5 separate regions of the Homo sapiens genome follow, and regions 2, 3, 4 and 5 are each linked to region 1. Evidence: promoter capture Hi-C in 16 types of primary human blood cells and fetal thymus (Javierre and others, 2016). All regions are on one chromosome and are shown on one strand. The core of a region is centred on a gene start or on the middle of the fragment in contact, and the rest is flanking DNA. Distances in the headings are between cores, read along the strand shown.

Evidence for each region. Contacts are between HindIII fragments. The CHiCAGO score rates a contact against its expected background, and 5 or more counts as called.
Region 2: a fragment that was not itself captured here is called in contact with the fragment with the promoter of DYTN in region 1 in 2 of 17 cell types (fetal thymus and naive CD4 T cells); the score reaches 5.5 in fetal thymus.
Region 3: a contact is called between a fragment that was not itself captured here and the fragment with the promoter of DYTN in region 1, in 2 of 17 cell types (endothelial precursors and fetal thymus). The highest score is 7.3, in endothelial precursors.
Region 4: a contact is called between a fragment that was not itself captured here and the fragment with the promoter of DYTN in region 1, in 1 of 17 cell types (fetal thymus). The highest score is 5.2, in fetal thymus.
Region 5: a fragment that was not itself captured here is called in contact with the fragment with the promoter of DYTN in region 1 in 2 of 17 cell types (monocytes and fetal thymus); the score reaches 7.7 in monocytes.

The regions. Positions count from the first base shown.
Region 1 is chr2:206,714,681-206,720,203 of GRCh38, reverse strand. It overlaps DYTN (dystrotelin), which reads left to right and starts at 1,808. Exons shown (of 12, transcript NM_001093730.1): 1 at 1,808-1,943. The coding sequence starts at 1,925. The HindIII fragment of the contact is 17,717 bases long and covers 1-5,523 here.
Region 2 is chr2:207,446,073-207,451,103 of GRCh38, reverse strand. No RefSeq gene overlaps it. Among named protein-coding and RNA genes, the nearest start is that of CREB1, 81 kb to the left of the region's middle. The HindIII fragment of the contact is 2,710 bases long and covers 711-3,420 here.
Region 3 is chr2:207,487,295-207,492,699 of GRCh38, reverse strand. No RefSeq gene overlaps it. Among named protein-coding and RNA genes, the nearest start is that of CREB1, 40 kb to the left of the region's middle. The HindIII fragment of the contact is 1,173 bases long and covers 2,805-3,977 here.
Region 4 is chr2:207,507,626-207,512,729 of GRCh38, reverse strand. No RefSeq gene overlaps it. Among named protein-coding and RNA genes, the nearest start is that of CREB1, 20 kb to the left of the region's middle. The HindIII fragment of the contact is 1,140 bases long and covers 2,438-3,577 here.
Region 5 is chr2:207,470,623-207,476,037 of GRCh38, reverse strand. No RefSeq gene overlaps it. Among named protein-coding and RNA genes, the nearest start is that of CREB1, 57 kb to the left of the region's middle. The HindIII fragment of the contact is 8,487 bases long and covers 1-5,415 here.

The DNA of each region.
Region 1 (5,523 bases), core at 559-3,058:
CATGGAGGACTCGCTGGTGATGCTGTCCTGGGTGTTTTTCTGCTAATGCTTTGGCTAACTTTCTCAAAATGCTCTCATGATAAGCAGATATTATTGTTCTTTTGGCCCGTCAACAAGCAAAATACCTGGAACATCCTAAAAACTGTTGCCAGAACCTTTTCTCTTGATAGGTCTGCTTTTGCTTTGACTGGACCACTTCCATCTCTTGGTAGCCGTTGCTTTGATTGTACTTTGTCTTCAGGATTATACTGGCAAAGTCATGTTTCATCTCTTGTTACAATTCTGCAAAGAAAGGCTTCAGAATCTTGGTCCCACATGTTTAAAATTTCCATTGACCCTGCTCTTGTCTGCAGCTGATCTACGTGCAATGGTTTTGGCACCCTTCTGGTAGAAAGCTAGCGCAACTTCAATTTTTCAGTTAGAATTGTGTAAGCTCAATCAGTTGAGCTATCTATGGAGTTGGCTATTGTTTCTTCTGTTAATTGTCCTCTTAAATTACAGCATTCACATTTCTTTAAAGAAAAAACTTCATTTTTTTCTTGCAAACTGATGTGGATGGTCCACTGCTGTGGGTTTCATCTTTCACATCCTCTCATCCCTTCTCAAAATGAGTTATCTCTCTGTGAACTACTGATTTCTTTTTTCCTTTCTTTTTTTAAAATTTAATTTTATTTTAAGTACTGGGATACATGCGTAGGACGTGCAGGTTTGTTACACAGGTAAACATGTGCCATGGTGGTTTGCTGCACCTATCAGCCCATCACCTGGGTATTAAGCCCTACATGCATTAGCTATTTATTCTGATGCTCTTCCTCTTCCTGCACCTCCAACAGGCCCCAGTGTGTGTAGTTCCCCTCCCTGCATCCATGTGTTCTCATTGTTCAGCTCCCACTTATAAGTGAAAACATGCAGTCTTTGGTTTTCTGTTCCTGTATTAGTATGCTGAGGATAATGGCTTCCAGCTCCACCCATGTCCCTGCAAAGGATATGATCTTGTTCCTTTATATGGCTGCATAGTATTCCATGGTGTAAACTATTGATTTATTTGGGGCATTGTCCCCATAAACTTTTTGTAAAGCATCAATGATTTTACTATTTTACCACCCAAGTTTTACCATAAATTTGACGTTTGTTCTTGCTTCCATTTTAGCAGAATTCATGTTGCTCTCAAGAGCTATTTTCAGACTGATATCTTATCCTTCTTAATGCTTCAAACTAAATCCTGTTCAGACATGCTTCAACAATCTAGTGTGAGTTTATTTTGGTACAAAAAAATTTTGAAATCCTTGCCTATTTTTTTTCAGAATATACATTTTCCACAAACCTCTTGTGTGTGTGTTGTTTGAACAATAGTTGCAACATGAAACAATTAACAAAGGTAGCTAATTGACTACTCTTTTAAAAATTAATTATTAACAGAATCCTATGTATACATATACATACATGTATGTATATATGCATATATATGACAAGTTGATAGCTTTTGTTAGAAATTTAATATGTAGAATGATTTAGCATAGTATTATTAGAAATTTAAGTATTGAGAGTTTCAAATTTTGTTCTTAAAGTTCAAGTAAATTGATATCATCTTAAAGTAAGAATACAGTCCACTCTTAAAATTACAATGCCTCAAAGCCTCTAAGTCATCATGGTATTAGTTTCAGGAGCTGTTCTCAGTTTTCTGAGAAGCGTGGTCAGTATCAGGAGCCTCTGCTTCTATGTTTCTCCCTGTTTTCTTCCTCCCAAGATATTTCAGTCACCTTGAACACCTTGCAGTCACTTTCCACAGGTAAAATGATTTGTTTAGTTGCCTTTTTGTTCCCCTGTCCTCATTCCTCTGCTGCAAAACCTTCTGCTTAAAATACTGGTTCATTTCTAGTTACAGGGACCCACTTGCCATCTGTCATTCCAGGAAATTTGTGAAATGGATCCAGATAAACAAGGTGAGTATTATTGTCAAGTTTCTGAGCATAGTTTGTAAACAGAAAAATTAGGCACAGATGTTATATTTTCAGACCTCTGATTTGAAGAAGAGTAAACATTTGGCAAATTTCTGGCTGAAAAAGAAACTGTTATTTGATTAAAGTGGCTTTCTCTCTCTTCTAAACAGAAATCCACCATGTACTGAAGAGTATCTGGTCTATTGTCTCGAAAGCACCAAAAATAATCTAACAAAAGACTTGATGTCAACATAATTACATTTGAATTGCTATTCAAATACACAGAAACTATTACCTTAGTTTTATGTATATTCATAGTTTACTATTAAAATGAAATTATCGTATATATTTTAATGTCATAGGTAAGTTCACAGTACTGTGTAGTTCAAGTTGGGAGAAAGGTCTCACAGTTGTCACTATATGAAAATTTTATAAGTGGATATGGAGAAACTAGTTCCCCTTTCTTCTAACATCGCTGAATGCCAAGTTAGGCCCAGAACTGATCTGTGGGATTTCTATTGCTAGATCTGTTTGGAGCCTTACTCCCCTAACCAAAATCTACATTGTTATCTTACTTGTTTTATATGAAATTCTGTATGATCCCTAGTTGTTTATCTAAAACAACATTATAAATGATTACAATACCTTTGGGTTTTCCAAATTTGGGCTCTCATATTAATACGCTTTACACAAAGCAGTAGGTAATCCATTCAACTCTCAATTTTCTTCTTTCTCAATTTTCTAAGGCAGTGTGTCTCAAAATTAGCATGCATCAGAATCACCTGAAAGGTTTGTTAATATGCTGCAAAGTTTGTGATTCCGTGGGTCTGGGAAGAGTCCAGGAATGTACATTTCTAACAGGTTCCCAGGTGACATGATGCTGCTGGCTTGGGACCACACTGTGAGGACCACTGGCCTACAGCATCTATTTTGGATCATTGAACTAGATGATGGACATTTGAAAGAATTGTATTATATCCACCTTAGTATCTGTGGAAAATAAATATACTGATGTAGCTGAGCAAAAACAAGAATCCTGGTCAAAAGATATTTCCCAATCATTTTGCTTCCATGAAGAAGAACACATGTAGCTTGTGTTACTATTTCTTTAAGCATCTAAAACTGCTTTGTTCATAGCTTTGGGCGTGATACATTTGGTAGTTTCTTCCTTTCTTGAGTTTGTTTTGTGTGTGTGTGTGTGTGTGTGTGTGTGTGTGTGTTTGCATCGGCAGAAAAAAAATGTAAAAGTTAGCCTTGAGGAAGTGGGTCTGGTGTTGGCTCACCTGGGCTCCTCATTCATTTTCCATGTTGCACTGTATCACAGCTTGCCGTGTTATGCTGCCTAACTTCATCAGATGACGCTGTAAAGCATAACTTGACAGGAGAGTGATGGCCAGATGGTAGAGCAGCTACAGAGTCGCTCCTCTACCAAGAGCAGCATCTGGGAACTTGCAGAGCCCCTTGTCTGCTGATTCTGTGTATCTGCTTGGTGCATCTGAGAGGAACCAGGGCACAAACATTGGCCAATTTCCAGAGGAAAGAAATGTTGGGCATTACACTATTGTAAATTATTTCCACCCTATTATGCCTACTCTCAATTTTTTTTTTCTCCAAACATAGGACAGAGGAGTTTCTGACATCTCCCATTCTCTAACATTGGCATCTTATCTGAAAACTAAGCATTTTTAAAGCCTAAGGAAATGATGAATAACAAAAGATTTAGAGCAAATTGTAGTTATATATATGTTTGTACCTCTTGAAAAAGAAAGGAAAACATGTAGACGGTTTTTAAACAACCTCTCTTGTTTGGGCGACAATGTTTAGGCACAGTCCACTTCACCTGAGGTAGATGTCTTTAATCCATGATCATATGCTGACTGTTGGATGGATATACATTCAGAGAGAGGCCTGTGGCATGTTCTCACTACTTTGGGATGGCTCTGGCCTGGGGTGGCTCTGGCCTGGTTCAGCACTCTAATCCCCTCTGTGGCTCCACACAGTGCCTGGCACTCAGTATCTTATGTGTAACAGCTAGTACTTTACCCCACAACACTCAAGGGCAAGAAACATCATTTCCTAAATCAAAATCAAGGCACTGTACCTTGATATGAAATTTAGGCTGAGTTCACTTTCTTTCTTTCTTTTTCTTTTGTTTTTTGTTTGTTTGTTTGTTTTTTGAGATGGAGTCTCGCTCTGCCACCAGGCTGGAGTGCAGTAGCGCGATCTTGGCTCACTGCAACCTCCAACTCCCTGGTTCAAGCGATTCTTCTGCCTCAGCCTCCCAAGTAGCTGAGATTACAGGCACGCACCACCACACCCAGCTAATTTTTGTATTTTTAGTAGAGGCGGGGTTTCACCATGTTGGCCAGGATGGTCTTTATCTCCTGACCTCGTTATCCACCTGCCTTGGCCTCCCAAAGTGCTGGGATTACAGGCGTGAGCCACCGCACCCGGCCACCACAGCCACTTTCTAAACTGATACTTGTTCCAACTTGCCTACAGCCCCCTTGAACTCCTATGGTTCTCTAACCTCCTCTCTGCCTTCCTAGCCCCAAGAACTTTCTCCAGCCAACCTCTTTGAATTATTCCAAATTCCTTTTGCATAATTATGCATTATTAACCTTTGGGAATTGATTTTACAGAGAGTGTTTAAGGGGAAAGGGTTAAACATTCTCCCTCACCTCACCCTACTCTGGAGGAAGATGCTGAGTGAACATCTCTTCTCCCAAAGCTGAAAGAAAGATGCTTCTGCCTGCACCCATATTTCTTCCCAAGGAGACACAATTATCTCCCACACTTCCCTTCCCAGCAAGCAACAAGACAACACTGGCCCTGATATATACGGGCAGCTGGCGGGCTCCCTGTGCTGGATAAGGATGCATCTGAGAGCTGCCGTCCCTAAGTCATCTCCCCTCCCCCTCGCCTCTGGGGAGGAATCTCAATGAGGAAGGCAAAGCCCAAGGAGGCTGGGAAATCCTGGACAGGCACCCAGTTTCTCCATCCATCCAAACCTAGGACCCAGGGCTTGACAGTTCCTCCCCCAAAAAGTAGGATTGGGACCCAGAAGGACCTAATAGCTCCTGCCTGTTCCTACCTGCCTGTTCCCTGATTCCCACCTGTTTCTACCTCATTCCTGACCTCCCATTCCAGCCACAGTGAGCAGCTCAGCATCTTATCCATCCTCCATGCCTTTGCCCAGTCTGTGTTCTCTGCCTGGAATGCTGCTTAGTATCTTAGACATCTGTTCCTTCAACATGCACTAAGTAGCTACATTAGCACTACTAATGAAACGCTGAATAAGACGAGAAAAAAAAAAAAAGAAATTTAGGCTGAGTTAAGTTTGGGAGGGAACTATCCCTGGGAGACAAACAGAAAGCTCTAAGGCTGCTATCTTGAACAACTAACTGGTCAAGGCCCTAACTGAAGTCCATTGTGACCACCACTTGTGATGCTCTCTGCCTTTGGCTTTGGATTCCACTTGAAGACATGGGACTCCATGTCAAGACTGGACACAGAAGTCCTTGTCACACCTGTGGCTGGTCTCCCTGGCTACACCATGCAGCCATTCATTCCCCCACTCAGG
Region 2 (5,031 bases), core at 816-3,315, 730 kb before region 1:
CAGTAAGAGAGGTTTCAGTAGACTGAGACGTTCCTGTGATAGAAGCAGGATCCAACAGACAGAACAACAGAGGGGACTTAACAAAAATTGTAGCCTGAATATCAGCTTCCTATTAAGCTAACTTCTGACCATAGAGCTCTTAAAAAAAAAATTATTTCAAATATCTTATAATTTCAGCAAAGGCAAATAACAAATATGCCTGGCCTTTTTTCTTCTTATTTTTCTTTCTTTTAAACTGGAAGTATCTACCAAGAGATTCAGAACCAAAGCCAGTAAGTGTTTTTGGATTTATTGGACAGGACACACTATGAGGAATCAGAATGAACAGGCCTTGCTAAGTTTCTTTCAGAACCTTAGTTCATACCCTTTTGTCCTGTCATGTTTTTGCATGACTTTTCACTCTTTATCAAACCTGGTATAAAAACACTTCAGCTTAATCGTTTCTTTGGGTCTTCATTTTCTGATGAAGGCTCCTGTGTCATGTAAAACTTCCATTAAATAAATGTGTATACTTTTCTCTTGTTAATCTGTCTTTTGTTAGCCTAATTTATAGAGTCCCACCTGGAGAACCTAAGATGGATAAAGAGACAAAGAGATTTTTTTTCCTCTATCCTACAGTACATATTAAAATGCAGGTAATTATGTTCTTTTTCGTTTTTGAAAAAAGCTCAAAATGCCATGTAAGTGCTTAGTCCAGGAAGGAAAAAGCTTTATAATCTACTTTGTTCATGAGATGCAGTAACAATAAGCAGAACATCTGTTCTGGAAGCATCTGTTATATCAATTACATGGCAAATTTTCAAGTTCTAGAATGAATGAATTTGTAAGTGGTGAGAATTTTTGATAACCAAGAGAAGACAGGATCTAGAGAAGAGAGCAGGTAATGAGCTGAGAATATAGCATGATCTTGATGGTGTCTGTGTTTTACTGCAACCTAGAAATTACGTGCTTTTACATGCAATATTTTTTTCCCCCACAAAATGGTTCCCAAATAAACAGTTAAAGTGGTTTTAGGTGATTAAAGCAATATAGAAGATTAGTTTTGTTATATATAATCACCTTTGCTTCTCCTTTATTGATGAAAAGAGCTTTTCTCAGTAGGTTGTGTTATCTATTTTAGATATTGCCTGATCTTGTTTTTTAAATGTAAATCAGCTTTTTAATCTTTTTTTATGTAAATTTGATAGCCAGTCCCAGCAATTATTCTGCTTTGTTGTAGCTCCCTCTTTAGAGCTGTCTCTATTTTATGTTTAATTGTCCTAATTGTCCAAATTTGAATAAACCTGGAGAACAGCAATGGAGATCATTACTTGTTTTTAAATTTACAAAAAGGTTTAAGCACTCCTTCCTGAACTTCTCTTTAATTCTTTACACTGTTAATTATGATCTGGGAGATTGGAAAACCTTATTATTGTCCCTGGAGCTGCTACTCCAAATTATAGGTTTGTTTATTCTTGTGTTACTACTTTATATCAGACTTCTCTTTCTATGAACATGATAAAAAACTCATCAGAGAAAATTTGTTAACTTCGCTTTTTAATCAGTCAGGATTTTAGCAAGGGGGTATTTAGGTGAAGAGGTGTATTAGGTAGTTTTAGAGGTTGGAGCAAATAACTGCAGTCCTGGCAGGGGAATTCGTCCATTTCATCTCTCCATTCCTCCACCTACTTACCTATGTATCAATGTATCAATTTTTGGAGGGCTTGAACTGGATGACATATCAATTCAATGGGATTATATTCTGACTTAATAATTTTTAGAAAATAGTAGATTAGATTCTAGGTCAAAACGGTCTGAATTTTGAAGTTGATTTAGCTCATAATTAAATTTGAAAAACCAAATACAGGAGAAAACCAAGAAGGTCTTATCTCAGTTTATTGAGTTCTTTATAGTTTGGGTTTTATGCTTTGGTTCAACTCAAGGCCTTGGTCAGGAGGCAGGATACTTGATTTAGCAGTTGAGCATGAGGCTCAATTATATCTAGTACATCTATGTCCAGCGCATCTATGTCTGGTACAATGTCTCTAGCTAGAAATTTTTTTTCTGTCATCATGCTGAGAAGCCATCTTTAATTCATTCACAGGTTCACTAAGCAGCTAGGGATATTTGGAATGAACAGAATGCATGTTAATTTCTGGTGAATCTGACATGCTAGATTGGATGTGCTCAGTTATCAGTGAGAGAAATACTTCGTATAATATAGGAAGTCACATATAGATACGCAGATAACTAACTTCACTGATTTTTGTGGCCACACCTGTTCAGGACTGCCTAAAGAGATTGAACCTGGCGATGACCTTGGACAAGTCTCAAAAACTCTCTGAGGTTAATTTCCCCATCTATGAGGTCAGGAATAGGAATAATTCTCAGGGGCATAATATAAGGAGAACAGACAAGCATCAGTGTTTTAGAGAAGCTCCATTATCATACACAAGGTCAGATCAAATGAAAATGAAATGTTCTCTTATAGCATCTCTGAGTTTCAGCAAGTAAATTCTAGTCATGCTTTGTATTCACAGACAGGAAATGTCTGTTCAGAAGGAATGAATAATAGATAACTACTTTCTTTGCTTTACACCTAGTTATAATTCTACAACTAACATAATATTAAATGAGTTCCCTTCCTCCCAGTGATGTTTCATATTCTGGTTACATACTGTAACCTTAAAACTCAACAGCATGAAAAATCAAACAGCTGGAGAAAATGTATCTTTAATTTTCCCACCAATTTACCACCCCCTGCCCTCTTGCTCCAGATTATCTGCCCAATTCTTAGATAAATGGTGTATTCTAAGTCCGTCTACCCTCATAAAGATGATGGACCCCAGCCAATCTTAGGTCCAGTTTCTCAGATCCAGTTTTTATTTGCTGGGTTTTAAAACTAAGGTTTGCTTTGACAGTGGTGTGTTAAATACCTCATGTGCTGAATCATACCTCAAATAAAGCTAACAAAATTTTTTTTTTGTAATTGCATGTTAAGTGTTCATTTTTGGTGTTAAGTAATTCATGAGTAGTAATTTATGTTTAGTAAGAAGTAGTAATAACTCTTAACCTGGCTCATAAGAATTGTAAACTATGTTATTATATATGATATATTACCAGTAAGAAGAAAGGGAATTAGGGTGAAAGAATGACATAATTTTGACCTGGAAGAAATCATGGACAAAATCTTATTAACTGTTCATTGAAGCAGTGAGGGAACAACGGGTCTGGAGGAGAAATGACTTGTTCAAGGTCACACAGCTGGCTAGCTTCAGAGTTGGCCCTAAAAGTCACAGTTTTTGGCATCTGGTCCAACACACTTTCCATCACAACATGCAGCCTCTTAGTTTGTTGGTTTTGGGTCAGAAATATAATTAACACAGGGCAGGAAGCCTAGATTATGAAAGAGTTGGAGGAGAATCTAATGAAAACCAAGCTTTTCTGAAAGTCCTGGGCAGTTGACCTGTTCTGTGATATATTCATGGTGTCCACCTGCAATTGGAATTTGGCAAGTGGCTCCTCTTTCCTCTTTGACCTCCTAGTTCTCTTCCTAGACTGGTGATTTAAGAGCTTACAGAGAGTGCACAACTTCTAGAAGAGTGAGAAAAGTAATATAATAATAAATAGCAGTAAACAAAAAAGTACAGAGAAAGAAAAAAAAGAGAAGAAAGTAGTACAGTAATAAAAGTACAATTTCAACAATTCTGATGTGAGATGATGAAGCAGTGGACGGGGAATACCCATTCCAGAAGTTGAGCTGTGATAAAGAAAGAAAAGTAGGATGTGGTGTCTAATGATAATAAAAAATAATGGCAGCTTGAAAACCAAGATGCTGTAACTACAAAAGGAGCAGGGTTTAGGGTTCTGATGCAGACCCATTATCCACACAGACGACATGGGCTGCAACCAAGTCACAGGGGATTGTAAATCAACCCCATACCCACACAGATCCTATTTAAACGCACACACACATATAATACATACATGCATGTATATATATATTGTAGGACTTTCCCCTTGGTTCAGCTAAAAGCTGGGTTCTTTTCACACAACCTTGAAAGATTAGGCTCATAGATGCTTTGAAGGGTGAGAAGGGCAGGGTTTACTGGGTGAAAAGGAAAAAACGGGAAACAGGGACTCTCAGCAAAGTGAGAGTTTTGCTAGCAGGCTTCCCGCCTCACAGATTGATTTCCAGGTACGACCCCAGAACAGGAGAGGCCAGGCTCCTCCCCACTGCAAACAGCAGGAACTTCCCGAGGCTCCACCCCAGTGTGCGCTTCTCCCAGTGCGCAGGCTGGTTGGAGGTTCTCCAGTGACCCCTTTATGCTTGGCTGTCTCCTATATACATATATGTACATAGGTTTGGTTCCCATACCATAGTGTGGGAGTCTTTAGTTACCTGTATAATATCCATTGATAAAGAACATCTCCAGGAATTGTTTGAGATGCCTAATGGAACTCCTTAACAATTACAGTCAAGATTCCAAGAGAGGTAGTGAGGTAAGTTGCACCTCTTACAGGATGGCTTATTCTGCATTACTCTTTGTTCAGACCTGCTTAGTAATCACCAGTGTGCTCTCACAAGGTCCTGGGCTACTGGCTCTTCTGTCTTGATAGGCACTCTTGGAAAGCTTATGTGCTTATGTTGTATCAGTTAGCATCTGTAAAAATTATCTTCCAATATTCTTCTTTGATACTGATTTTCTGGGGAGGGGGACTGTGATGAGAATGTTGTATGGGTCTGATGACTCAGTCATTCAGAGGATGACCTCATTTGAGCCACCATTTGAAAGTCAGAAAACTGGATGTTTTAAGTAGTCTAAAACATGATCATTCTTTTGGTTATTGGGTTATATTACCAAATCCAGTTGACACCAATGTATAAATCAGAATGCCATCATTTAAATATATGTGTTTAATTATCTTAATATATTTATATTTTTATAGTTTAAAATTATTTATAGTTTAAAATAGTAAGTTTCTAGTTTAAAATATAAACATAAATTATGTTTATACTTTAATTAGTATATTAACGTATATTTAATATAT
Region 3 (5,405 bases), core at 2,142-4,641, 770 kb before region 1:
CCTTGACTCTTCTGTGGAGTAGGGGCACAGTTTTGCATATTCATTTTGAGGGTGGCAAGATGACATAATGGTTAAGAGAACAGGCCCTGGAGGCAGACATAGCTGACTTGAAAAGCCAGCTCTATCATTTACTGGTTGCTTGAGCTTGTATAAATAACTTAACTTCGCCACACTTTGGTTCCTTCATCTGTTAAAAAGGGACAGCCCTTTCCTCCTCCAGGGCTGTTGTGAGGACTGAGTGACAGAATGTATGGAAAGCATTTAGCACAGCTCCAGGCACATGATAAACTCAGTAAATGTTTAGTAATGTTATGGTTGTATTAACATTATTCAATAATAGTAAATAAGAATAAATAAATTTATAGAAAATATTTTATTTCCAGCCAAAAGCAAGTTGAGTGCCTATAACGTCTTGGTTTAAAATCCAACGCGATCATTTTTCTTTTGTTTCCTTTTTGAGACAGGTCTTGCTGTGTCACCCAGGCTGGAGTGCAGTGATGCAATCATACTCCATACTCGCTGCTGCTTCAAGCTCCTGGGTTCAAGGATCCTCCCATTTTAGCCTCTCAAGTAGCTAGGACTACAGGCACGTGTCACTTTTCTTAAATTTTTTTTTGTAGAGATGGGAATCTTGCTATGTTGCCCAGGCTAGTCTTGAACTTATGGCATCAAGCAATCCTCCTGCCTTGGCCTCCCAAAGTGTTGGGATTACAAATGTGAGCCACTGTGCCAATCATTTTTCATTGACAAGAAAAATCCTTTTGGTTTTGTAATTTCAAATTCTGGATCACATTTTCCCAGCCAAGGGAAATTTTTAGTAACTTATAGGTGTGGAAGCCTTATTGTAGGCAAACTTGGATTTTAATATTACACTATCATGTTTGAAAATAGAAGAGAATTTTAAGTAGTCTAATAAAAATGATTATTATTATAAAGCTTTGTGGTTAAAAGGACATGAGATTTATCAAATTGTGCAATTTAATATTGCATCGTCTATTGTTTGTCATTCATGCCTCAATAAATCTGTAAAAATGAAAGGACACGAGGCAAAGAAGGACACACATGCTTTGTGAAGTCCTGCTTGGGGTAGGACTTCGCTTCTCCTTTAAGGACAACTGCTAAAATATAGTTTGGTCAATTAATTCACATATTTTGGGTCCTGTCTCTTTGTAATATGCAACATTGGTTTGGGTTAATAACTCAAGAAAGCCTCTGAATATTTCACAGCTGACAGTCCTGATGAAAACTTAACTCATAGCAAAGTTGTTTTTTATTTATGGGCTTCTAGGGGCATCCATGGTGCTCCACAAAGCATGGGAAAGACAAGTTTATGCTCTGGGCCTTCTGTGAGTGCTTAGCATTTAGATAGCAGTGACAGTTACGAGCATGAGTGGCTTTGTGAGTTATTTGGAATGATAGCCTCCTGGTAGGAATGACAGGCAGTCCTCCCTTGGGAAAGATGATTATACTGGGTATGGTCATATGGTCACCAGTCACGGCATTGGGAGTCACTTTTTTAGAAGTAATGATAAGCATTTAAGGGACAGAAGGACTGGGGAGGGTAGCAGGGAAAAATAAAGGCATTCAAAATGAGGAAAGCAGCATGACCCAGGCACAAAGGTGCTGTATCTGGAGTGTTCATGTGACATATTTTGGGGACAGAATTCAACGAGGCTGAGTAGCAGGGTGGACCCAAAAGGTGAAGGATCTGGACAGGCAGACCTTGGCATTCCGACAAATGGAAAACAGAAGGTTTTATATTGAAGGTGTTTGAATAATGATTTTTTTTTGGAATGATTACCATACACAGGTAATTATAGAAGTTCTCCTACATTGACTCAAAGCAACCCTCTGATGTAAACACTATTTTTAGTATCACATGTTATAGATGAGGAAATGGGGCACCGTAAAGTGGCAGAGATAGGATTTGAACCCAGTCTGTTCGGTCCAAGAGCAAATACACTTAATTATTAGGCTGCCTAGTATTCCTTAACACAATAAGTGGTATTTAAGGATGGGTAAATCTGGTGGTGATTCACAGGGTTGATGAGAAGGGAAAAAGTGTGGGGTTGGGAAATCCAGTTAGGAGGCTGTAGCAATAATTATAGGCATTCCAGAAACCATTCGTATCTTTGCTTCCTGCAAATGGAATGGATTTCATCCATTCCCACTATACCTATGCTAAATCCAGTCTCCACCATCTTCTAATTCTTCCCTTGCCCCTCTCCACTCCCTTCACAATGTGCAGTAAGAGGGCATTTGTAGAGAACAAACCTGATTATGTTGCCCCCTTGATTAAACCCTTCGTGTAAGATCCATACTCTTGGGTTACAAGATTTTTCATGAGCTGGTTCTTGCTTTTCTCTCCAGCCCCATGACTAGGCATCAGTGTCCTTGAGACAGAGTCTCACTCTGTTGCTCAGGCTGGAGTGCTCGGCTCACTGCAACCTGCGCCTCCTGAGGTTCAAGCGATTTTCGTGCCTCAACCTCCTGAGTAGCTGGGACTGCAGGTATGCGGCACCATGCCTGGCTAATTTTTGTATTTTTAGTAGAGACGGGGTTTCGCTGTGTTGCCCAGGCTGGTCTTGAACTCCTGGCCTCAAGTGATCTGCCCTTCTTGGCCTCCCAAAGTGCTGGGATTACAAGTGTGAGCCACCATGCCCAGCCTTAGGCACCTGTGTCCTTTCATGCCACTCTGCTGACCAATGATTTTTCTCCTGGCTGCATGTTAGAATACCAGATAGATGCCCAGGTCCCATCTCTGATGTCAGAACTTGGGGACAGGGACGGGGGCAGAGGAAGCTTTGGTAAAGAATCTCCCCAGCAGTTCCTAATAAGCAGCCAGGGATAGCCAATGCTTAATAGACAGGCTGAACCCCATGTTCTGGAGGGAGCTGCTCTCTTCCCTCTCTGGGTCTATACTGTTCTTTCTGCCTAGAGCACATTTTCCCTCATCCTGTTTCACCTGGTTGACTCCTAGGCAGTCTTCGGATCTTATTTATCACTACCTCCCTAGTGCCTAGAAGAGTGCACATGGTAGACTTTCAATAAATATCAGCCAGGATTAGTTAAATGACTGAATAATGCCCCCCCGCAACCCAGGATGTCCACATCCTAATCCCCAGAACCAGTGAATGTGTTACCTAACATGGCAAAAAGGACTTTGCAAATGTGTTCAAGTTAAGGATCTTGAGATGAGCAAATAGCTTGGATTGTCCAGGTGGGACCCATGTAATCACAAGGGTTCTTATCAGAGGGAGGCATTGCACTGGAGGGAGGGAGGAGATTTAAGGCCAGACACAGATATCAGGGAGGGAATGCTGGCCGGGTGCCGTGGCTCATGTCTGTAAGCCCAGCACTTTGGGAGGCTGAGGCAGGAGGATCACTGCAGTCCAGGAGTTCAAGACCAGCCTGGGCAACATGGCGAAACCCCATCTCCACAAAAAAAAAAAATACAAAAAGTACCAGTAGTGGCGCCTGTAGTCCCAGCCTCTCGGGAGGCTGAGATGGGAGTGTTGCTTGAGCCTGGGGGTTGGAGGTTGCAGTGAGTCAAGATTGTGCCACTGCATTCTGGCCTAAGTGACAGAGTGAGACCCTGTCTCAAAAACAAAAAAACAAAGTGAGAGAGGCAATGCTATGCTACTGGCTTTGAAGCTAGAGGAAGGAGTCATGAACCAAAAGAATGTAGGTAATCTCTAGAAACCAGAAAAGCAAGGACACAGATTGTCCTCTAGAGTTTCCAGAGAAAGCACGGCCCTGCCAACAACCTTGATTTTGGCCCAGTGAAGTCCACTTCAGACTTCTGACCTCCAGAGCTGTCAGATAATAAATCTGTAACAATAAATGTTGTTTTAAATAACTAAGTTTCTGTAGGCCATTGAAAACCACCTATGAAAAAATGTAATAAATAACTAAGTTTCTGGTAATTTGCTACAGCACCGATAGGAAACGAATACATGTGCCATATCTGAGAAGCTTTTCTTCATCACCTTTTCCCCCAGGGGCAAGTTAAGGGCCTCTCCTGCTCACTCCCTTACACTCTGATGTTTCTTTTCTGTGCCTCAGTTTTTCCACGTGTAAGACAAGTACTTACTTCACTGGATTCAGATGAGGATTAAATGAGTTAATATCCACGAAGTATTTAAAATAGTCACTTTCCCATAGTAAGTGCCCAATAAATGTTATTGTTATTATTACCCCATCACTGCCCACTTATCACACCATTGTATTTGCCGAATGAAGTAAGTGAGTGGGAATAGAGATTGAGGAGTATGATTAATATTTCCGCCCGTCTCGTGGGCCTGATCCCGGAAGAAAGGGATCTACCTTTCCAGGGCCTCAGCAATCGTTCCTTCTAGAACCTGACTACCAAATATGTTTTCCCCCTTTGTTTTGCCCTTTTGGAGGGTCTGTTTCCTGGGTTTCCTCTTGCACATCCCCCTTGGCTCCCTGCTCTATTGCCTGGAAGCCTGGGACCTCGCCACACTTACTGGCGGCTGCAGCTCCAGGAACCCAGCGTCCAAACCTTGAGTCCCTCTGCTGCTTTCAGAAGGGAATGTAGATCATTTCAAGAAAAAAGGAGAGGGATGAGTCAAAGAAGCGTAGATGGCTTCAAGCTGGCTGACTCAGAGAATGACTAAGAGAAGAAAACTGGAGAGGATGGGAGGACAGTAGCTGGAATGGCTTCCCTTGCTGGCTGTGTGTCCCCGGCACTCTATCCAGCTGCCCCAAGCCTCAGCTTACTGTCCTTCAAGTGCAGCTGATCACAGCACCTGCTTACAAGAGTATCATAAGGGTTAAAGGAAAAGTGACCCTTGAGCACTTAGCACAATGCCCCATCTGCACACAGCACCCTCTAAGTGTCAGCTGGCATTCATTTGAGTAGGAATGATGAGAAAAGGGTATGACCTGTAACAGCAATTTTCCAACTTTTTGGCCTCATAAGGTCTCCTTTATACTCTTAAAATATTATTGAGGACCCCAAAGAGCTCTTGCTTATATGTATATCTAGTAATATTTACCACATAAGAAATTAAAACTGAAACATTAAAAGTATTTATTCTTATAAGAACAATAATAGACCCATTATAGTTAACATGATTTAAAAATAAAACATAGTTAATTCTTCCAAAACAAAAATAATTCTGGTGGCATTGCTTTACATTTTTGCAAATCTCCTCAGTGTCTGGCTTAATAAAAAGATAGCTGGATCCTCATATCTGCATCTCTACTCAGTCTGTTGCAGTATCACATGTCACAAGTCAGATAGCCTCTGGAATACTCCACCGTACACTTGTAAAAGAATGAGAGTTAAAAAGGCAAATGACATCTTGGTATTATTATGAAATAGTTTTGACCTCAGTGACTACCTGTATAGATCTCAGAGGTCCCCAGAACACATTTTG
Region 4 (5,104 bases), core at 1,758-4,257, 790 kb before region 1:
GTTTCTTTCATAGTCTCCCTGCTTTGTTCATGATAACTCCATTGCAGTAGTTGCTTAGATCGAAATCCCAGGAGTCATCCTTGGGTTCTGTCTGTCTCTTACATACCACATCTAATCTACCAAGTTTCTATATAGAGAATTTGCCCTCCTTTACTGCTACTGTTCTGGCCTGAGGCATCATCATCTCTCACCTATAATTACCTCTTAACAGGTTTTTCTGCTTCTGTCTTGGCCCCACTACAATTCTATTCTCAACGTAGTGGCCAGAGCAAATCTTACAAAACTAAGTCAGATAATGTCTCTCCTCTACCCAAAACTCAGCTCTCCCAGCTCCCCATTTCGCTCAGAGTAAAAGCCAAAGTCTTTGTAATGGCTACAGGTCTGACAAAATTAGTGCTCCCTGCTTCACCTCTCTCCCTCTCTTCCTTGCTTCTGGTGCACTTTGCTCAAGACTCACTGGTCTCGCAGTTTCTCAATCTCATCATCATGCTCCTGCTGGAGGGATCTTTGCTTTAGCTCTTCCCTTTGCCTGGAATCCTCCTCCTCCAGGATCTACAGAGTTAACTTCCTCACGTCCATCAAGATTTTGATGAAATCTCATGTTCTCACTGAAGCCTACCATGGCCACCCTATTTTAGACTGCAACCTGAATCTCTTCTGTGCTCCCTTCCATCCCATTCCCTGTAATCCACTCCACGGTTTCTTTTTCCCATAGCACTTATCAGTATAACATACTACAACATTTATTTATGTATTGTAGTTTATTATCTATCTTTCCTTAGAAGGGTAGGCATCTTTGATTTGTTCAGTAATGATTCCTAAGTGCCTAGAACCATGTCTCATTGGCATTCATTCAATACTTGTTGAGTTGTACTGAATTGTGATAAATCCTATGAGCAATGTCAGCACAAGGTGCTATGGGAGTATATAGAAATGACCCCACACAGATCAGGTTAAGAAAGACTGTGAAGGAGTTGAGGCCTCCCCTGAACTTTACTTTTTTGGAGATGAAGTCTTGCTATGTTGCCCAGGCTGGGGTACAGTGTCTGTTCACATGTGTGATCATAGCATACAACAGCCTTGAACTCCTGGCCTCAAGCAATCCTCCCCACCTTAGCCTCCCAAGTAGGTGAGACTACAGGCGCACCTCAGCTCTCAGCAGAACTTTTTTTTTTTTTTTTGAGTTGGAGTCTCGCTCTGTCGCCCAGGCTGGAATGCAGTCGTGCGATCTCGGCTCTCTGCAAGCTCTGCCTCCTGGGGTCACGCCATTCTCCTGCCTCAGCCTCCTGAGTAACTGGGACTACAGATGCCTGCCACCATGCCCGGCTAATTTTTTGTATTTTTAGTAGAGACGGGGTTTCACTGTGTTAGCCAGGATGGTCTCCATCTCCTGACCTCGTGATCTGCCTGCCTCAGCCTCCCAAAGTGCTGGGATTACAGGTGTGAGCCACCGCACCCAGCCTCTCTGCAGAACTTTTAAAGATAAATAGAGTGAGGCAGATGAAGGAACCACGAGAAGCAATGAAATCATAGATGCAAAGTGCTCCATTGGTGTCTTAGTCGGCTTGAACTGTTATGACAAAATACCATAGACTGGGTGGTTTAAATGACAAACATTTATTTCTCATAGTTCTGGAAGCTGGGAAGTCCAAGATCAAGGCATCTCTCTCTGTGGGTGAACACCCACTTCCTGGCTTGCAGATGGCCATCTTCTCATCTTCTTGTCATGTCCTCACATGGTGAAGAGAGACCTAGAGACATCTCTGGGATCTCTTATAAGAGCACTAACCCATTCATGAAAGCTCTACCCTCCTGATTTAATCACCTCCCAAAGCCCCACCTCCTAATATCATCATATTGTGGATGAGGATTTCAATATATGAATTTTGTGAGATCACAAACATTTGGTCCATTGCACTTGGGTATTGTTTCAGGTGGCTATTTGGATTGAATATTACCAATTGATTCCAATTCAGAGTATAGAAATCAAACCTCATGGGTAATGCACTTTGTAGAATACTTCTTCAGCAAAGCTTATATCTGCCTGAATTGTACCATGTTATCATAGTGAGCACTCATAACATTTCATGGTCAAATTGCATTGGCCGGGAGTTTCAGTCTGAACAGCCAAGGTGCCAAATCTTTGTTTTGGTCAACAGGGTAGCCAATAATAAAAACACTAAGCCAAAATCATAGTTAAGGTTTACAGTGAATATCTTTGGAAAGTAATGCAATGACTTAGAGATTTTTCTCATTTGAGATGTTCTTTTACCAGGGATATATTCGGAGATAGAGCCTTCACTATAAGTACAAGACACAAACCCACTCTTAAATCAGCTTTGTAACATATGATGTATGATTTATGTGTTCTTAACACTTTGTGCCATCTGGTGGCTTCATATTTAAGTAATTTTTCTTGATAATTAGATATCAAGCTTAGTTGTTTCTACCTGTTAGAGAAATATATGTGTTGTCAACATGTAAATATAACACATTTCAGAACAGAAAATTCTTGAAAATGTTTGCTTGTGCCCTTTAAATTTTAGTGGGCTGATACAAAGCCTCCTTGCTCTCCCAATTTTAACTCTGCTCATAGAATTGCCTAAACTCAGTCCCTTACTGGCACACAATAAGCAATACACATTATGTTAAATAATTGAATCAAATAGATTTTGATCCAGAAGAAACATATAGCATAAGCCTAAAGGACTTTAGGGAACATAACTTAATGTACATTTTGGATTTGTAAAATAGGGCTCATCATAGTTATCTATCTCAGTCTCTATGAGAATTAATACAGGCAATATGAGTTGATATATGTAACAGTCTTTGGCACACGTCTTTTATTAATAGACTTTATTTTTAAGGAAAGTTTTTTTTTTCTTTTTTTTGAGATGGAGTCTCACTCTGTCATCCCGGCTGGAGCAGTGGCAAGATCTCAGCTCACTGCAATCTCCACCTCCCAGGTTCAAGTGATTCTCCTGCCTTAGCCTCCTGAGTAGCTGGGATTATAGGCACCTGCCACCACGCCTGGCTAATTTTTGTATTTTTAGTAGAGACAGGCTTTCACCATGTTGCCCAGGCTGGTCTTGAACTCCTGACCTCCAGTGATCCACCCACCCTGGCCTCCCAAAGTGCTGGGATTACAGGTGTGAGCCACCGCACCCAGCCCTAAGGAAAGTTTTGGACTTGCAGAAAAAGCAAGCAGATAATATAGAGAGTTCCCATGTAACCTCCCCACCCCACCCTACCCAAAGTTTCCTCTATTGCTGACATCTGACATTAGTATGGTACATTTGTTATAATTAATGAAGCAATATTGATAGAGTATTGTTTTGAACTAAAGTCCATAGTTTATTGAGAGTTTCTTAGTTTTTGCCTAGTGTCCTTTTCTGTTCCAGAATCCATCCCAGGATACTGTGTTATATTTAGTTGTCATGTCTCCTTAGGCTCCCTTGGCTGTGTCAGTTTCTCAGACTTTCCTATTTCTGATGACCTTGACAGTTTGAGGAGGACTGGTCAGGTATATTGTAGGTTGCTCCTGTATTGGAATTTGTCTTTGGCACATTTTAAAGCTTCTAAAAGTGTTTGTTACTGATATTATTGCTTCATATTCAGATTAAATGTGGAACAAAGCTAGGATATGGGCAGGGGATAGTTTTGTTGAAAATTTAGTATTTAAAAGATTTATTTTGAAGCATAGTCAATTTATCAGTGCCAAAAACGGACAAAATTTGGTTTGCCTACATCCATCCTTCCATCTTCCATTCAGTAAATATTGTGAGGATAGTGTGTATTAGATGCTGGGGATTCAATAATAAAGAAAATGTAACTGCTTTCATAGAGCTTCCAGACCAATAGGAAGAGAGTCAAACAACTAAAGAAATAATCTGCAAGATAACTTGTGACAATAAAGAAAATATTCTTATATTAAAGAACATCTTAGTAGGTGAGGGGAAAGGGGACTAACTTTATTAAGATCATGCATTAGGATATTATAGAGATAGAAAACAGAATAACAGGCTTAAACAAGGTAGAAATTTTCTGTTCAGGAAATCAGGGAGTCAGTTCAGAGCTAATATGGCAGCTCCACAGTGCCAGGGTCCCATACCCCTTCCACTTTGTTGCTCTGCTGTGCGTGGATTAATTTCTCAGCATCATCTCTTGTCTAAGACTATTTCTGGGGATCCAGCTATCACATCTGAATTCCAGCCATCATGAAGCAGGAGGAGTCAGAGAAGATAACTCCCCTTTTCACATTTCTGTTTACTTTTTGCTGTTTTGACAGAACTTTTTATTTTACTTTTTGTTGTTTCTGTTTTGACAGAACTTAGTCAAGGGGCCTTATGCAGCCACCTTACCTAGTCTCTTTGTCCAGGTGGCCATGTTTACCAGCTAAACATCAGAGGTTTTATTGCTATACTGGTTCTCACGCTATGGCGTGCATCGGAATCACCGGCAAGACTTGTTGAAATACAGATGACTGGCCCTCATCCCCAGTTTTTCATTCAGTAGGAGAATAAGAATTTGCATTTCTGACAAGTATCTATGTGATGCTGATAATGCTGGTCCAGGACCACATTTTGAGACCCATTGCTGTAAAAAGGGAGCATGGCCAGATACAGTGGCTCACACCTGTAATCCCGGCACTTTGGGAGGCTGAGGTAGGAGGATGACTTGAGCCCAGGAGTTTGAGACCAGCCTAGGCAACATAGCAAGACCCCCATCTCTACAAATAATAATTTTAAAAAATTATCATGCGTCTGTGGTCCCAGCTACTCAGGAGGCTGAGGCAGGAAGATCACCTGAGCTCAGGAGGCTGAGGCTGCAGTAAGGCTTGATTGCACTGCCACACTCCAGTGACAGAGTAAGACCCTCAGGTGACAGAGTAAGACCCTGTTAAAAAAAAAATGAAAGAAAGGAAAAAAAAAAAAAAGCAAGCATGGATATTGAGGGAACACTCTCTGATTTGGACCATGATATGGACTTTGATCATTTACATTTTTTGTACTGAGACAGACTATGCTTTCTTTTTTTTTCTTTTTTTATTTTTTAGATGGAGTTTCACTCTTGCTGCCCAGGCTGGAGTGCAGTGGTGCAATCT
Region 5 (5,415 bases), core at 1,865-4,364, 750 kb before region 1:
ACAGGCATGCGCCACCATACCCGGCTAATTTTTGTATTTTTGGTAGAGATGGGGTTTTACCATGTTGGCCAGGCTGGTCTCGAACTCCTGACGTCAGATGATCCACCGGCCTTGGCCTCCCAAAGTGCTAGGATTACAGGCATGAGCCACCACGCCCAGCCAATTCCTCTCTTTTTACAAAAGTACTCCCCAACCTTATTTCTTTAAAAGGCATTTCCTTTGCTTAGGACTGCTGTCTACCCACTGTTCACATCACAGCTCCTGTGTAGGTGTGTCCTCTCACAGCACGGGGGCTCATGACACAGGCATGCAGGCAGCAGGCTTCTGTTCAGTGGTTCAGGAGTTGTCACTCAGGTCCAAGAAAACTGCTTTGCAGCATCTACCCTTGGCATGGTAACTCTTATTGATAGCCTCCTCTTGGTCTGTCATTTCTCTGTAATTCCTGCCCTGCAGGAAACCAGAAAGTGATTTTCTATGCACAACCATGAACCATGTTTTTACCTAAAAATATATTTATGAACTGATCTCTTGTTTCCTCCAAATATTAAACCCTTTTCCTTAGAATGGAAGAGGACAGTCATTTCTATAAGATCATGTTCAGATTAGAGACGCAAACATTTTCTGTCCTAGAGTTCTTCGAAGTTTACTGTCATGAGAAAACATTTCTTCCCTGAGGAATTGAATTCTGAAAGTTCAGGAGCCCAGTAGCATCATAATTTTTTTCCATTCATTTCTTCCAGTGCCCTATAAAACAATCGCAAAAATAATACAAACTCGATCCCAAATTAGATATAAAATATGCAAAGGTGTTGTGCTATGTAAGTAATGTACTTATTATCACATATGCGATGCAAATGGATGCAACATTCTACAGAATACTTCGGGAAAATAGAGAACGTAAAAATGTTCTGATTTTAATCACAAAATAATTCTATTCAGAAGTTAGCCACGAGAGGGCAGCATTGTCTACACAAACACAGAATGGCGACTGCATTTGAACCTCAGACATTTTCGTGAGGCTGTTTCACCATTTGGTTTCAATCACAGGGAATGATCATAGAAACAGCATCATTGATGCTTAAATTCACAGTTTTTAAAATAAAAACTCTAATCTCTTCGTCTGCGCAACCATTAGGACAAGGCTAAATATCGTGGAACAATGACACATATTTTTCTTATATTTCTCTGTCTTTTCCAGCATGTCTTCTTTACGCTCTACGCTCCGTTTCTGTAGTTTACTTACTTTGAAAAAAAAAAAAATCACCCGACTATTATTATGATTCTGGCCACATGAATCCCAGTGAGCATCAATTTCTTTGTCTACGGAACTTTTTTTTTCCCCTGGAGTCTTGCTCTGTCGCCCAGGCTGCAGTGCAGTGGTGCGATCTTGGCTCACTGCAACCTCCGCCTCCCGGGTTCAGGTGATTCTCCTGCCTCAGCCTCCTGAGTAGCTGGGATTACAGGCGCCCGCCACCATGCCCAACTAATTTTTGTATTTTTAGTAGAGACGAGGTTTCACCATGTTGGCCAGGATGGTCTCGATCTCTTGGCCTCGTGATCCACCTGCCTCGGCCTCCCGAAGTGCTGGGATTATAGGCGTGAGCCACCGCGCCCGGCCATCTACAGAACTGGTAAGCAGTCTAGGGTAGTAAATAGAAACAGGGCCCCAGCTGTGGGCAGGGGCTGCTTCTGCCACTTCGAGATTTGCTTTTCCCCATAGATGAACTGAAGGTAATAACAGCATCTGCCTCTCACTGTGCTGTTGTGAGGATGCACTTTATAATGGATTTCATAAGGTGCCTGGCACATAGAAAGTGCTCAGTAAACATTGCGGTAACAGTGGTGGACTCTTTTTTTTTTTAATTGAATGAGTTGTCAACATTTAAAAATCTGGAGAGCTCACATAAAAATCCTCACTGATCAGTTTTGTCCACATATATTACTTGCCCGGCTTCTGTGGGCACGCGGGTTGTGGTCCTTCGTGAGCCCTTCCATCTCCCACCATCTGTTTATTGCCTTTAGATGATGATAAAAAAAAACTGCACCATGGCCAGCAAGAACAGCTGTAGGAAGGAAGACTTCAGATTTTTTCTCCAAGTTGCAGAAGATGATTGTGCTCAGTCCTAACAACTCTCTGTAGATTCTTTTATCTGAGCAATCCAAAGCCCTTAGCGCTGCAGTTTAATCTAATTTGTTTCTTTTGTCAGATTTCATTTTGAGGCTGAAGCCTTTGAGAGACTAGCAGAGAGCATTTCCTATGGGAAATTTGGTTTCATTCATTCCTAGGTGGCAGGTTGGGGGGTCAGGATTGTCAAACTGGGGAGGACATCTGATGCCTGATGGTAAAACAAAAAGCCACCAGGGACAGGCTTAGGACAGTTCCACTGTGACATCCTTTTTCCTTTTTTCCCCTTCACTTCCTCAGCCCCCCTACCCCATGTGTTAAATGGGTTTTCTTATTTTTAATCTTAAAGAAAAAGAATTTGTGTTTATAAAATAAGATTTAAAAGGTTATTTCCTCCTCACAGTGGGAATCCAGGGAGATAGCTTGGCAGCCCCCAGGAGCTCAGGGAGGAACTCAGCAATCCTCTCATCTGTCTTACAGAACCGTGCTAAGTTACCAAAGGAAACCACCACTCATTTATCTAAACCCTTTGCAGTTAAATGCTCAGAGACGAATGCGCTTGTTGCAACTGCTCTCAGGGTGGCAGCAGACACTCAGAATGGTGTTTCGATTTAACTTATTGCATTTCAGCTAATTGAAAAGCAGAGCACATCGAAGGGCCTCTGTGAGAACACTTTTCAGACTATAAATCGGGGCTGGAGGAGATGTTTAATTAAATCAGTCCTGAGGTCACAGGAAGGAAAAGCAAACCTCTCCCTCCCAGACTTGACCTGGTTCACGTAGCATGGCAGCTGGAGAACTTGGAAATGTGTTAGTAGGACTAATGTAAATATACCAGATTAAAGCACTTCCCCGCCAGACTACGAAGCAAGAAATCGGATCTAGAGACAGACAATGGCTCTGACCTTCCAGTTTAATTCTGTATGCAAGAAACACACAGATGAAGATGGCCGGAGAGGCCGAATTGCTACGTTTCAGATTGCAGTGCGAGGACAGACTTTCTTAAAAGAGCTTATTTCCAAAGAATTCTGTTATTTGCGAGCAGGGACTTGGGAAGCCTTGAGTCAGTCCTGGGTCAGAACTGAGTGTTTGAAGGGGTGAATCATTAACTAAAACCCAACAGTTCATGAAGGAGGAAACCTAGTTAGAATTTGGGATCCTAGACAGGACACTAGCCAGGTGTCATCTGCAACAAAGGAAAGCGTGGCCAACCCAGCGTGGCCCACACAGGAAGGCTCCACACAAACCTATTGGTCTCACTTTTCTTGCTGAATTCTCTCTCAGGTTCATGGGCTTGTATGATGAATGTTCATGCAACATCTCTCAACAGCCTTCTCTCCCCATCCTTCCCAAATTTAAAGATAGGATCACGTGACAGAAAGAAAAAGAGCAGAATGTAAATGTGAAATCATAGCATTTGAAGGTGTGATCTTGGTTTTTAGCTAGAAGACGAGGAAGCTGAAGAAGTAACTAATTCAGGCCGGGCATGGTGGCTCATGCCTGTAATCTCAGCACTTTGGGAGGCTGAAGTAAGCAGATCTCTTGAGCCCATGAGTTAGAGACCAGCCTGGGCAACATGGTGAAACCCTGTCTCTACAAAAATGCAAAAATTAGCCGGGAGCAGTGGTGCACTCCTGTATTCCTAACTACTTGGGAGGCTGAGGCGGGAGGTTGGCTTGAACCTGGCAGGTGGAGTTGCAGTGAGCTGAGATCACACCAGATCTGCACTCCAGCCTGGGCAATAGAGCCAGACCTTGTCTCCTTAAGATAATAATAATAATAATAATAAAAGTAATTAATTCAGTCCAGCCAGTCAGCATAGGGAGCTAGCATGTTGGTCATAATTGCATGGCCCAGTCTGGAGCACATAGGTTCCTGTGATGAGCATCATGATGTGAAACAAAGCAGTCAGTGCCTTGGAATCATTACCCACTCCCCTTGCATCTCTAATCGTATATTGATTATGCTTATTTTTCATTCATAATTTTCTATGACTCCTTATTTCCCATGATACATCCAATTTCCCATGAAAGATCCATATCAGTCCTATTACCCCTTTGGATCTATTTGTTTGCTGGATCAATTCTCATTAAGACTTTAGTTTCACAGTTGTGGGAGGAGGGCAGGAGAGCTGTAGGGGAGGCATTTATTCACTTCTCCTGGTATCTGAGCAGGTAGACACAAAAACCTCTCCCCATGCCGTTTTTTCCTTATCTCTTCCTCTTGGATACTTTCTTGGTTTCCACTCTCTCCTCCTGTTTTCCTCTCCCTTCCAGACTGCAAAGAGGACCTGAAGGATGAGATCAGGGTTTGTGATAGAGGTCAAGCGTCTGCCTTACCTTAGGCAGCTGCCCCTTATCCCTCTTCCTGTTCTAATGATCAGCAAAGGAAGGAGCAGATGAGGGATCAGAAGAAGAGAAATAAGGACAGCAAAGCCAAAAGGTCCTGCAGGACAGGGGGTCTGGAGGCAGAAACTTGAGATCCAATGCTGAGATGGATGAGATGTTTGACTTGAGCAGTCATTCACCTCTCTGGGCCTCAGTTATCACAGCTGTAAATCAGAGGAACAGATTGGACGTGCTCTAAGCCTGGCTCTGGGGTTCTACGAGTCTATGAACTAGGAAACAGCAGTTTACAATTTGAAAACGCTGCAGGATGCTTGTAAAGTTAATTTACAAAAAAAAAAAACAAAACCAATAGCAACAACAACAAAACCCTTCCTGTGATATATGTATTTATACCCCATCACTGATACCATTATGTATGAATAACTTACTAGAACCAATCAAAAAAAGAAAAGAAAAAGCACCGAAGGGCAGAATGATGAAGTTGGCGATGATGCCACCAGCTCATTCTGGTGAGTGAGTGATTTGTTTATTTCCTCTGTGCTTGGGGTTGCCGCTAAATCTGGGCTGGAGAAACCAGTAAATATTTTTAATGTGACAAGAAAATCAGAGCATTTGGTGCCTTACACATTGTTGTTACTACAAGTTTTATTTCTTCTTTTATTGTTGGCCATAACCTTTTGAGCCTGATCTGGTACAAGAGCCCTGTGCAATCCCAAAAAAGGTGAGAGGCCAGATGTAGCCATCTCTGTGTGCTGGGCCATCTGCTGGTAATTCATGAGACAATGGCCAGGGCCCTTCTGATACAGTGCATGGAGCCGATTTGTTACACAATTCAAAGATATTTATTTTTATTCTGGTCTTACCATATATATCTTAGCCTAATCATGTAGAGGGGTTCAAAACCTCTTTAGACCAATACACATTTGCACCATTTACATTGTG